3 separate regions of the Homo sapiens genome follow, and all the other regions are linked to region 2. The links are contacts of gene promoters, found by promoter capture Hi-C in human tissues and cell types (Jung and others, 2019). All regions are on one chromosome and are shown on one strand. The core of a region is centred on a gene start or on the middle of the fragment in contact, and the rest is flanking DNA. Distances in the headings are between cores, read along the strand shown.

What was found. The method cuts DNA at HindIII sites, captures the fragments that hold promoters and counts their contacts. A contact is called where the count stands out against the background at its distance.
Region 1: a fragment that was not itself captured here is called in contact with the fragment with the promoter of ZNF618 in region 2 in 1 of the 25 tissues and cell types used here (hippocampus).
Region 3: a contact is called between a fragment that was not itself captured here and the fragment with the promoter of ZNF618 in region 2, in 5 of the 25 tissues and cell types used here (IMR-90 fibroblasts, heart right ventricle, mesenchymal stem cells and 2 more).

Annotation. Positions count from the first base shown.
Region 1 is chr9:113,819,661-113,823,828 of GRCh38, reverse strand. No RefSeq gene overlaps it. Among named protein-coding and RNA genes, the nearest start is that of ZNF618, 55 kb to the left of the region's middle. The HindIII fragment of the contact is 8,763 bases long and covers 1-4,168 here.
Region 2 is chr9:113,874,949-113,878,732 of GRCh38, reverse strand. ZNF618 (zinc finger protein 618) reads right to left here and starts at 2,424. Exons shown (of 15, transcript NM_001318042.2): 1 at 2,320-2,424. The coding sequence starts at 2,352. The HindIII fragment of the contact is 30,531 bases long and covers 1-3,784 here.
Region 3 is chr9:113,839,615-113,843,510 of GRCh38, reverse strand. No RefSeq gene overlaps it. Among named protein-coding and RNA genes, the nearest start is that of ZNF618, 35 kb to the left of the region's middle. The HindIII fragment of the contact is 3,413 bases long and covers 1-3,051 here.

The sequences.
Region 1 (4,168 bases), core at 187-2,686, 54 kb after region 2:
GTGGGGATCATGCCCCCTGAGCTGCTGGGCAGTCCTACCCGCATGGCTTCTGTTGGAGGCCATCTGCCCTGTTGATGATCTCTCAATTGCATTTGGAGTCCTTCTTCTTTTTGAAGGATATTCACATATATTCACAGCCTTCCTTCATTCCATTCCATTTTCTCCATTTCCTTTAGTTCCTGCTGGCAGTGTTTTTACTGGTACAGTCCCATTTCTATTTTTGGCATCTGTTGAGATGGCTGATAAGGTCTGTGGTCTGCATCCACACTAATCTCCTTATTAAATGATTGGCTGGCCCATTTATTGATGTTCTCTTCCAAACATGGTTTCTCATTTTTTGCAATATGGATAGACTGAGAATTTCCCAAATCTTAAGTTCTGGATCTTTTCTGCTTAACAATTCTATCTTCAACTTATTTCTCTCTTCTTGCATTTTACTGTTAGCAGTCAGGAGGCACCATACCACTCCAACACTTTGCTTAGAAATTTTCTTAGCTAAATATCTGGTGTCATCACTTACAATTTCTACCTTCCACAAAACACTAGATTTTAACAAGGATTACATTTTCTCCATTGTTCAATAACGTATTTCTTATTTCCACCTGAGACCTCATAGAATTTCCCTCAACAATCATATTTATACCAATTCTATATGTGATTATTCATGTATTCTCTATAAACCACAGAAGATTTATCTACAGCTCTTCTCTTTTCTTTTTGAGCCCTCAGCAGAATTGCCTTCAAAAGTCCCTTCATGGCAATGTCGGTTTTTTAAGGATGCACCTCAAAATGCTTCCAGCCTCTACCTGTTTCCCAGTTCCAAATCCTTTCACATTTTTCACATTTTTAGATATTTAGTACAGCAGCATCCCAGTTTTCAGTACCAATATTGGTGTTAGAGTTCTTCAGAGAAATAGATACAATAAAATATATAAAGAAATGTATTATAAGATATTGGTGTACATTATTATGCAGGCTGAGAATTCTTATAATCTGCTCTCTGTAAGTTGTAGACCCAGGAAAACCAATGGTGTAGTTGAAAGCCTGAAAACCAGAGAGTGAATGGTACAGATTCCAGCCTGGCCTGAGCTCTGAAAACCATGGTGCCAAGGTCAGGAGAAAATTGATATTCCAGCTCATTCCGTCAGCCAGAGAGTAAATTTAACCTTCTTCCATCTTTTTCTTCTATTTAGGCCCTCAACAGATTGGATTATGCCCACCCATACTGGATAGGGCCCTCTGCTTTACTCAGTTCACCAAGTCAAGTGCTAATCTTTTGCAAATACCCTCACAGACACACCCAGAAATAATGTTTAGTCAGCAACCTGGGTATCCCATAACCTACTCAAGTTGACACACAAAATCAACCATCACACTTTTATTGGTGTTTTCATGTTGCTACGTGATCTAGTACCCAGTGTGGGGTATATGAGGCAAAAAGAAAACCAAGAGAAATTGCTGCCATGTGGTTCTTTGAGTCTGAAGTCCCTTGTCAGTCTGGGACCTTTCAGAGTTCTTTTTATTTTAAAAACATACATTACATCCAGGGTGTCTAGTTGTACTTAATGGGAGCAATAGGGAAATCTACATCTACTCCATCTTCCCAGAGGTGGAATTCCATACTATTGACCTTTGTATATTGACTTTGTCTTCTGCAAATCTGTTACCCATTTATTAGATTTGAAGTGTTTTATTAGATTATTTGTTATGTACCTAATTAAGTCATTTGTGAACAAAGTCAGTTTTACTTCTTCCTTTACAATCTGTATATGTTTATGTATTTTCTTGCCTGATTGATCTGGCTAGAATCTCCAGTACAATGTTGATTAGCAGTGGTGAGAGATATTATTGGTCTTTGATATTAACAGAAAATATTAAAGAAAATATTCCTGTTTCATCATTAAGCATAATATTAACTGTACATTTTATATAGATCCCTTTCGTCAGCTTCTATTTAGGGTTTCTGAGAGCTTTATCATAGACGAATGTTGAATTTTGTCACAGGCTTTTCTGCATATATTGAGATTATCATATGATGTAATCATTTTCTTATCAGCTTAGCTAGAGATTTATAGAGCTTATTGATCTTCTAAAAGAACTTTTTATTTCATTGATTTTCTGTATCATTTTGCTTTTTCTAATTAAGTTCCATTGTGATCTTTATTATTTTCTTTCTACTGTGTACTTTGTTTCATTCTCTCTTCTTTCTAGTTTCTCAAGATGACAGGTTAGATAATGATTTGAGAACTTTCTTCTTTCCTAATAGGCGTTTAATGGTATAAATTTCTAAGTACAGCTTCAGCTGCATCCCACAAATTTTAATATGTCGTGTTTTTATTTTGACTCATTTCAAAATACTTTGTAATTTCCTCTTTTGTTTCTTTTGGGGTTATTTAGAAGTATATTATTTAGATTTCAAATATTTGGCAGTTTTCAAGATATATTTCTGTTATTGGTTCCTAATTTATTTACACTGTGGTCAAAGAGTATACTTTGTATGACTTGAATTCTTTTAAATTGAGATGTCTTTCATGGCCCATAATACGGTCTATTTTGGTAAATATTCTATGTACACTTAAAAAGAACGTATAGTCTGCTATTATTGGGTAGTATGTTTTCTAAGCGTCAAATAGGTCGTGTTGATTGAGAATGCTCTTTGACTCTTCTACATTCTGATTTTTTTGTCTACTTGTTCTGTCCATTGAGAAAGGAGTGTTGAAATCCTCAACTTTGGTTGTTGGTTTGTGTAACTATTGCAGTTGTATTAATTTTTGCTTCATAGGCTTTGAAGCTTTTTTAAAGGAACATAAGCCTTCAGGATTGTTGCATCCTGATGAATTGGCTCCTTTAGTGTTATGAAATGATCCTGTTTATCTCTGGTTATATTCTTTGCTCTCTGCAAAGAATTGAGAAATTTCCAAATCTTTATGGTCTGGGTATTTCTGCTTAACAATTCCATCGTCAATCTATTTCTCTCTTCTTGCATTTTACCATTAGCAGTCAGGAGGAACCACACCACCTCAACACTTTGCTTAGAAATTTTCTCAGTTACATATCCAATGTCATCACTCACAAGTTCCACTTTTCACAGAACATTAGGTTTTAACAAGGATTACCTTTTCTCCATTGTCCAATAACCTATCCCTCATTTCCATCTGAGACTTCATCAGTATCATCTAAAGTCTATTTTGTCTGACTTTAAACATACATTCTAGCTTTATTTTGATTAACATTAGCATGATTTATTGTTTTTGATACTTTAAAAGTATTTGTGTCTTTATATTTAGTGTGGGTGACTTTAAAAAGCATATAGTTGACTATTTTTAAAAAATACAATTTGATAATCTCTTACTTTTAATTGGGGAGTTTAGACAATTTACATTTAATGTTATTGATATGGTTAGGTTTGAATCTATTAGTTTTTTATATGTCTTCTTTTGGTTCTATCTGTTCTTTTTTTACCTTTTCTGTCTACTTCTACCTTCATTTGGATTAACTACGTTTTTAAACGATTCGATTTGATCTCTTTTATGGGATTATTAGTTATATATCTCCTACTTAAGTGATTACTTTAGGGCTTAGAGTATACATCTGTAATTTATCATAGTCTGCCATCAAGTGATAATTTAACACTTCACTACTCTATATACTGTATACTTCCATTTTTCCATCCCCAAACTTTGGGCTAATTTTTATCCTACATTTTATTTCTACATATGTTATAACCCCATTTCATTATTTTTCTTCAAATAGTCAATTATCTTTTGAAGACATTTAAATAGTAAGACATTTATTTATTTAGTTTATTTACCCAGATGGGTGCCTTTTCTGGGGATCTTTATTCCTTTTGTGGATTCACATTTTCATCTAACATCATTTTCTCTTTGTTTTTAAGACTTCCTTTAACATTTTTTGTGCCATGATCTGCAGGTGAACTTGTTCAGCTCTGTGTGTCGGAAGAAGTATTTTGCCTTTGTTTCTGAAAGATATTGGCATTGGATATAAAATTTATGGAGTCCTTTTCTTTCAGTACTTTAAAGATTTTGCTACAATTCTTCCAGCATGGATTGTTTCTAACAAGAATTCCTATGCCATCCTCACCTTTGTTTCTCTGTAAATAATATGTCTGTCTTTTCTAGATGCTTTAGAGAATTTCTCTGTATCACTA
Region 2 (3,784 bases), core at 1,175-3,674:
AGGTGACCCACCATCAATTTCCAATCCAAGGTCCCTCCAAGATCCCGCCCTGCAAGTCCTAACAATATGCTGTTTTTGGACAGAAAAATTGTAACTTTTGGGGGATAGGCTCAAAATCCCCAGCAAGTTCAATTAGATACTAATTTATCACAAAACGCTTCATCTTTGGGTGGGTACTTTATTCTCATCTGTCAAATTTCAATTCGGTCAATATTTATTTGCCTTCTTAAATTTTTTTTTCTTTTTTGTTTCACCTTCATGTGATTCATTTTAAGGCCAAAACCTCCACATGAAATATTGTTTGCATATATGCTTTCATATTCCAAAGGCAAACCTTGGGTTTGGCTTTTGTTTGTATTTTGATTATTTTTCCTTTATTTTGTTGCTGCTAAAACCAGCTGAGTTGGTGTTATATCACATTTCTTCAGCAAAGTAAGTGTTCTACCAAGGAAGATGGATAAGAATCAGAATTTTCATCTCCTTTTTGCCCATCCCTCTTTTATCTTTTTCTTGTTAAGTCAGTAAAATTTGTGCATTTTTTTTTTTTGGTCACAAACCCCCCAAAATGATCAAGGCTAATGGATTTTTCCCCCTTTGAAAGTAATCAGGTTTTTGAAAAATAACAAATATTGATAAACTACCAACCCCACATCACAATCAAAGAGGCCTGAAACCAATCTAAATTTTTTTTAAGTAATAAATTTTTCAAATTGGAAGGGTGAACAAGACAGAAAAGGGAAAATTTTCTTCCTTACCAAGGATTCCTCAATCCTTGTCTTCATCAATTGATTCAGTTGCATGTCATAAAAAATGAGCTTCTGTGAATCCACTGTTAGTTTTTTCATAATAATGTTAATTATGCATATCTTATTTTAATGGCGGTCTCTCCTACAAATCTGTGGGCTACTCAATTTGTATAATGTATGAATTTACATTTTTTCCACTTAATATTGCTCAAAAAAGGTTCCTGACATTTTCTGGATAAAACAACAACAAAAAAGAAATGCCTAGACCTTTCAGGAAACAAAATCAGAAAACAGTCTTAATTATTCCATCAAAACAAAAAAAACACACACACACACAAAACCCAACAAATACAGAAAAAAAGAAAGAAAGGATTTCACTGTAACTTTTCTAGTTTCTGTTTTCTTTAGAATCTTAGGATTTAAATGCAGTAAAATGTAAATGCAAAATTAAAAAAAAAAAACTACAATTTTTGGGTGTGTCCAAAGCCAACATTTTAGGTTCTATTTTCTCTTTTAAATCCTTCGTTCGTGGAAATAGAAAAACTTTAAATATTGCCATATAGAGAAATTAGTCTTTTTTTGCCCGCTGAGCTAAACAAGTTCCAAATTACAATGAAGTACAATTTCTAATTGCTTCATAAAGCCAATTCTCTCAGTTTTCCCTAAACTCAACAATTTCCCTCCTTTCTTTATTCCAATTAGTTTTTTTCTCAAACTAAAATGAGTTGGGTACCCAAACTGACTTTGCTTTTAGGAGGTTTTTTGCTTTCTCCCCTCCAAGAACTAAATTCATTCAAATTCCAGCTTAATTTTCATTTACATATTATCTGGATTTGGCTTCAGAAATAAAAATTGTCTCCATGCTTCTGGAAAGATCAAAGTGAAAATTTTCACCCGAAAAAAGAAAAAAAAAGAATCTCTTACCCCTCCACTGCCTGGTAGTGCAAACTTTTGAAAAAATAAGAAATAAAAAATATTTCTTTTCAATTTTAATTTCTTTTTTATTTACAAAATAGTATCCTCTAGGTGGCGTCGTTTTAATGGGAAAAAACTACCGTTTGAAGAAAAATTAGAAAAAAAAAATTGAGAAAGGAAAATATGGCCTAAAAAAAAAGATTGTTGCAAAAATGGGGGACCTGGGGGGAAAGACCTCCCGGGGGGTCATCGGGGACCCCGAGCGCAGAGAGGGTCAGGGGAAAATTGCAAATTTGGGGGGGAGGGGGCAGAGCTGGAAGGGGTTGCATTTTTGCAAAATGTGAATTGTCCAAACTGAAATGGCTGCTCTGTTCTCTCGCCGCTTTGTTTTCTGGGCTCCGGTCCGAGCCCGGGGCCGGAGGGGGCGCTGGGTGGGGGCCCCAAAAGACCCCCTCGTCACCCCCACCCTCCTCGCACCCCGCAGCGCCCGGGGGGGTGCTCTCCGGACCCCGACCCTCCCGATTGCGCCCACAAAAAGCCCGCAAACGTGCCCAGGCACTTTGCATTTTGCAAATCTTGCAATGAAGTGGCGCAGCGCCCCGGGCCCCGGCCCCCCGGGGTCCCCCGCGCGGTGCATGCCCCCGGCCCCCCGTCGTACCTGCGGAGCCGCCGCGCCGCCCGGCTGGTTCATGGGTCCGTGCGGGAGGAGGCGGCCCCGGCGCGTCCTGCTCCTCCCGGGCCGGGCTGCTGGTGCGCGCACAATGCCGCCGCCGCCGCCGCCGCCGCCGCCGCCGCTCCCTCCTCCGCCCGCCCCGCTCAGGCCGGGGGGGCGGGGGCGCTGGGGGCGCGCGGGGGGGGCGCCGGCCCTCGCCCCCACCCCCGGCCCGCACCGGCCGCGCCGCGGCAGCCGCTGCCGCCGAGCCGCCCCTCGCGGGGCCGCCGCCGCCCCCCGCCGCCCTGCCCGCCCCCGGGCCGGCCTCGCCGTGCGGCCCGCGAGCTCGGGGCCTCGGCCTCGGCCTCCGCGCTGCCGGCCTCCGCGTGGCACACAAAGCCGGCCGGTCCAGGGGCGCGCCCGCCCTCCCGTCCGCCAGCCCCAGTGCCGCGGCACACCCGCCCCCCCAAACTTTCCCGCGCCGCGCCCTGCCCTCCCCGCGCCCCCCGCGCCCGCTCCCCGGCTCCCTTCTGCCCTCCCCCAGTCCCCCAGCCCCTCGGAAATGTCATTTTCACGCTGGAAAAAAAGTTCAGGGAGCCGGCTCTCGGCGGAACGCAAGAGGTTAATGGGAACTCTGTACCCCGCTGTACCCCCCCGCCAAAAAAAAACCAGATTGATTTTTGAAATAAAAGTTTTCAAGAGCTGGCTTGCTGGAAGACTGGAAGGCTTATTGGGAATATTCTATTGCCCTGCCACTCCTCCCAAAAAAACTAATGTAATAAAATAAAAGTTTGAAGGACTGGCCCCATGTCCGACAAGAGTGGTTAAGGGGACTCTAGCCCCCCAGCCAGACTGATTTTTAAAATAAATACTTGAGGAGCCGCTTTTATGTGAAATGCCAGTGAAGCGGCTGTTTCTGCCTATCCTTGCCAAATTAAAATATATATATGTATTTCTAAATAAAAGTTTGAAAAACTGGTCCTACAGTAAGACAAGAGGGGTTAAAGGTTAAGGGATATTAGCGCCCCCCACCCCCATATCCCCCAGTTAGGTTGATTTAGAGAAGGAAAATTTGAGAAACTTGCATGTGAAATAAAACGTGAACCAGGATATTTCTTTCCAACACCCCAAAATAGCCAGTTTTTTTGTTGTTGTTATTGTTGTTTTTTTTTTTTTAACTTGAGCAACTGCCTCCTTGTGACTTGGGAAAGTTTAAAAGGGATTTTTTTTTCTATTCTCTTCCCTATTCTCCTAAAAAATCCGATTTTTTAAAAATTGAAAGTATGAAGGACCTGCCCTATTATAGAGACAAGGAGGGATTACTGGATCCATCCTACATCTCCCACAACTGGTTGATTTTTGGAATAAAAATGTTAAGAATTGCTCTTCTATGAGATGCAAGGTGAACAGAAATCCTTCTTTGCCCCTCCCCAAAAGAAAACTGCAAGGGTACTTTTCAAAAATAAAAGCA
Region 3 (3,896 bases), core at 96-2,595, 34 kb after region 2:
GTGACCGAGCCATCATTTGATCCCCAAATTCTGTGCTCTTGGAATACTCTGTCCAAATCCTGGGCTTGCCCTTCCTTGTGAGGGGACCATGCGGAAGGAGAGGGAGGAAGGAATCCAGCTCTTTCTCAGCTTAGGCCAATACCCTGCCACTCTGTACTTCTCACTAATCACTGACAGATGTTTGTCAGTTGCTGGTGGGTGCTGTTTAGGCAGAAAAGCAGGTATTTATTAGGCACAGATGTTCCTCAATGACCGCTTGTTTGAATGTGTGAATGGTATTGGGGAACAGCAGGCAAAATGAAATTTCATCTCAAATTTCCGAGGATTAGCAACAGGTTTACTGCATCTGGCCAAATGCTAGAGCCGCAGATACAAACCAGGTGGGTTCTTGAGCTAGTGGAAGCAAAGTCTGATGACAGACACAGGCCTGTCAGTAGATAATAATGTGGGGTGCTATGTCACTTGGCTGAACAAGGAGCTTGGTGAGGCAGAAGATGGGAGCTGTGAGCTGAGCACGGTCATATTTACCCTTCTTGGTAACACCATTGGACATAAAGGAGAATGGTGGTTGTTCATCCCAGAAATCAATAAAGCCAGAATTAGAAAGGTGACTGGGACATGTGGAGCCCACACTCAGCAGGGACCGGTGTCTGATTCCCTGGCAGAGAGGACCAGAGCCACAGGCCCATGAGATGGGGCAACTCAACCCACAGAACACTCCCTGACTGTCTGGGAGTCTAGGGCACCTCAGATAGCTTTCCTTCCAGCCCGAGGTGGATGCTCGTGGGGCACCTGAGATAGCTTTCCTTCCAGCCCATGGTGGATGCTCGTGGACTCCACCTCTCCAGACACCCAGGCGGGTTGGCAGTCTTCTCTCACTGTACATTTTTACCATTTATATGAGCCAACAACATCAGTCTCCAGGAGACTGAGCCAGTCCTTCTGAGCCCAATTCTCCTCTTCCCCTTTGTATGAAGCCAACAGAGCACACTCCTTTGAAATATTAAGGACCATACTTAATGGGTGGCAACCTAAGCAATATTTAAAATATATATATTATTGTAGAAGTCATTCGTGTCTAAGTGTTGAAAAAATACAGATCAGCAAAAAGAGCGAAAAGTAAAATCATCTTTAAGCTTACCATTAAAGCTGATGAGTGTTAGTATTTTAGTATAAAGCTTGACAAATACTTTCTACGCTTACATATAATACAGATGTATGAGTAATAAGCTTTTAAAAACAATGACATCAAAGTTTATGTGCTGCTTGAAATGATGCTTTTATGAATCAAATTGTATCATGAACTCTTCTCCAAGTAAAATATAACATTTTGTGACAGTATATTTCATATGATTATACCATAACTTTATTATATAGTATATATGCTATGTGATATATAAGAACATAGTATACCTCTTCTTATATGAATATACCAAACCCATGTTTTGTCCATTTATGTCATTTTTGATTTTTTATCGATAGGTAATATTGTAAAAAGTATCTTGAGCATTCATTGTTATAAACATTCCTGAATATTTTCTTAAATATGGAATTACTGCATTAAAGATTATGAATATTTTAAGAACTTGACTAAGTACTTCCAAGTTGTTACTCCACTCCCACCTCAAGCGACTGCTCTAATTGAAACCTTTCTTTCTCCATACTCTAGCCAATAGACGGCATGGTTTTTTCTACTTGTGACCAACATGATGAGTGAAAACTGATATCTTGCTTTTATGTTCATTCTCTAATTATAGCTGAGTTAAGCATCTTTTCTTATGCTTACTGGCTGCCTGTGTTTATTCATAAGTATGCTCCTGTCCACTTTTCTATTGGAATGTTCAAATTTTTCTCATAGATTAGTTTATTTTTTACTTTACTCATTATTTTTATACAACTATTTTATAATGGTTAAAAGAGCCCTTTCTATTTCGAGATTATGTAAATATTCCTCTATATTTTTGTCTAATTGCTCTAAATGTCTCACTGATGTTTATGTCTTTCATGTTACTGGGATTTACTTTGGTGTATGATGTGAGTTAGGCATCCAACTTTCTTTTTTTAAAAATGGCTAGCCAGTTGTACCATCATTTATTGAATAGTTGTTCTTTTTCCTTTGATTTTGAGATGCTGTCCTTATAATATACTGAATTGCTGTACGCCTTGAGTCTTTTGAGGACTTTCTATTCTGTTTTGTTAGTGTCTTCATTTATTCTTGTCTTAGAACTATATTATTTTCATATTGCAAACTTTTAGCACATATTAACATTTAGTAAAGCAGATCCAATACACCCCACCTTATTTTTTTCCAGCTTTTTTCTATTCTTGCATTTTTTAAATAAAATTTAATACCTATATAAATACCTTTAAAATAATTGTATCAAGTATAAAAATAGCAAGATTTTGATAGAGATAGTGTTAACATACAGATTAATTTGAGGAGAGTTCCAATATTGAATCCTTCCATTTAGGATAATAATGTATCTTCTTTTATGTTCCCCAGTTAAGTTCTGTTCTTCACAATGTTATGCATATTTTTATTAAGTTGAAATTATCCTTGCTATATAGAAAAGCTAGTTATAGATGTAGATCTACATATAGCTATTCATATACACATACATTGTTGATATTTTTGCACTACAAATTCTTACTAAATGCTTTGAATATTTTTTCCTTTGATCTTCTTGGCTTTCATAGGTCAATACATCAGCTACGAAGAATGACAATTGTAACTCTCCCTTTTAAATATATACCTCTCAGCAGGGCTGGCATTCTGAGCTATTTACCAGTATGTCTTACCAGTCTTTAAATTTTAAAATACTTTAGCATTAGTTGATAGTATACCAGTAACAGCTAGGTACAGCAAAATCTGTTAATAATATGATAGGGTTTGGATTTGTGTCCATACCCAAATCTCATGTCGAATTGTAATCCTCAATGTTGGAGGAGGGACTTGGTCGGAGGTGATTTGATCATGGGGGCAGATTTCCACCCTTGCTATTCTTGTAATAGAGAGTGAGTTCTCACGAGATCTGGTTGTTTAAAAGTGTGTAGCACCACCCCCTTCACTCTCTCTTCTTCCTGCTCTGGCTGTGTAAGACGTGCCTCCTTCTTCCTTGGCCTTCTGCCATGATTGTAAGTTTCCTGAGGCCTTCCCCAACCATGCTTCCTGTACAGCCTGTGGAACTGTGAGCCAATTAAACCTCTTTTCTCTATAAACTACCCAGTCTCAGGTAGTTCTTTATTGTAATGTGAGAACGAACTAATACGTAATAAATATTCTAATATAAATTTGTCATTCAAGCTAATGGCTGTAGCACATGACAACAACTGCTGATAAATGGGCCTTCCATCGTAGTGACATCAGAACAATTTTCTGCAGCATTCTTCACCAGTTTGGTCCATTTCATAGAAGGCAGTGTGGCTTCATAGGATATGCTTTAGGAAATGCAAGATATTTAGGGAAACGGTTCTCAACATGTAGGTTGATGACCCCTGGGGATATCTTAGACCCTTTCAGGAGTCTGTGACAACGAAACTGTTTTTACAATAATACTAAGACTTATTTGCCTTTTTCACTGTCATTCTTTCATGAGTGTAAGTGGAGTTTTCCAGAGGCTGCAGAGATGTGTGATATCACAACAGATTTAACCCAGATCTGAGAATCCAGCTGACTTCTATTAAGCAACACATTAAAGAGATTTGCAAAAACTACAAAACTTTTCTCACTGTTTTTTTGATTTGGCAGATATAATTATTTTCATTAAAATGTTATTTATGTTAACATCCAATAAGTTTATTGTTGTTATTTTTAACTGAATAAATACAAAAATTTTAAAGTTATGTCTTTATTTCTAATATGGTAAGTATTGATACAACCCACATAAACAAAAGCT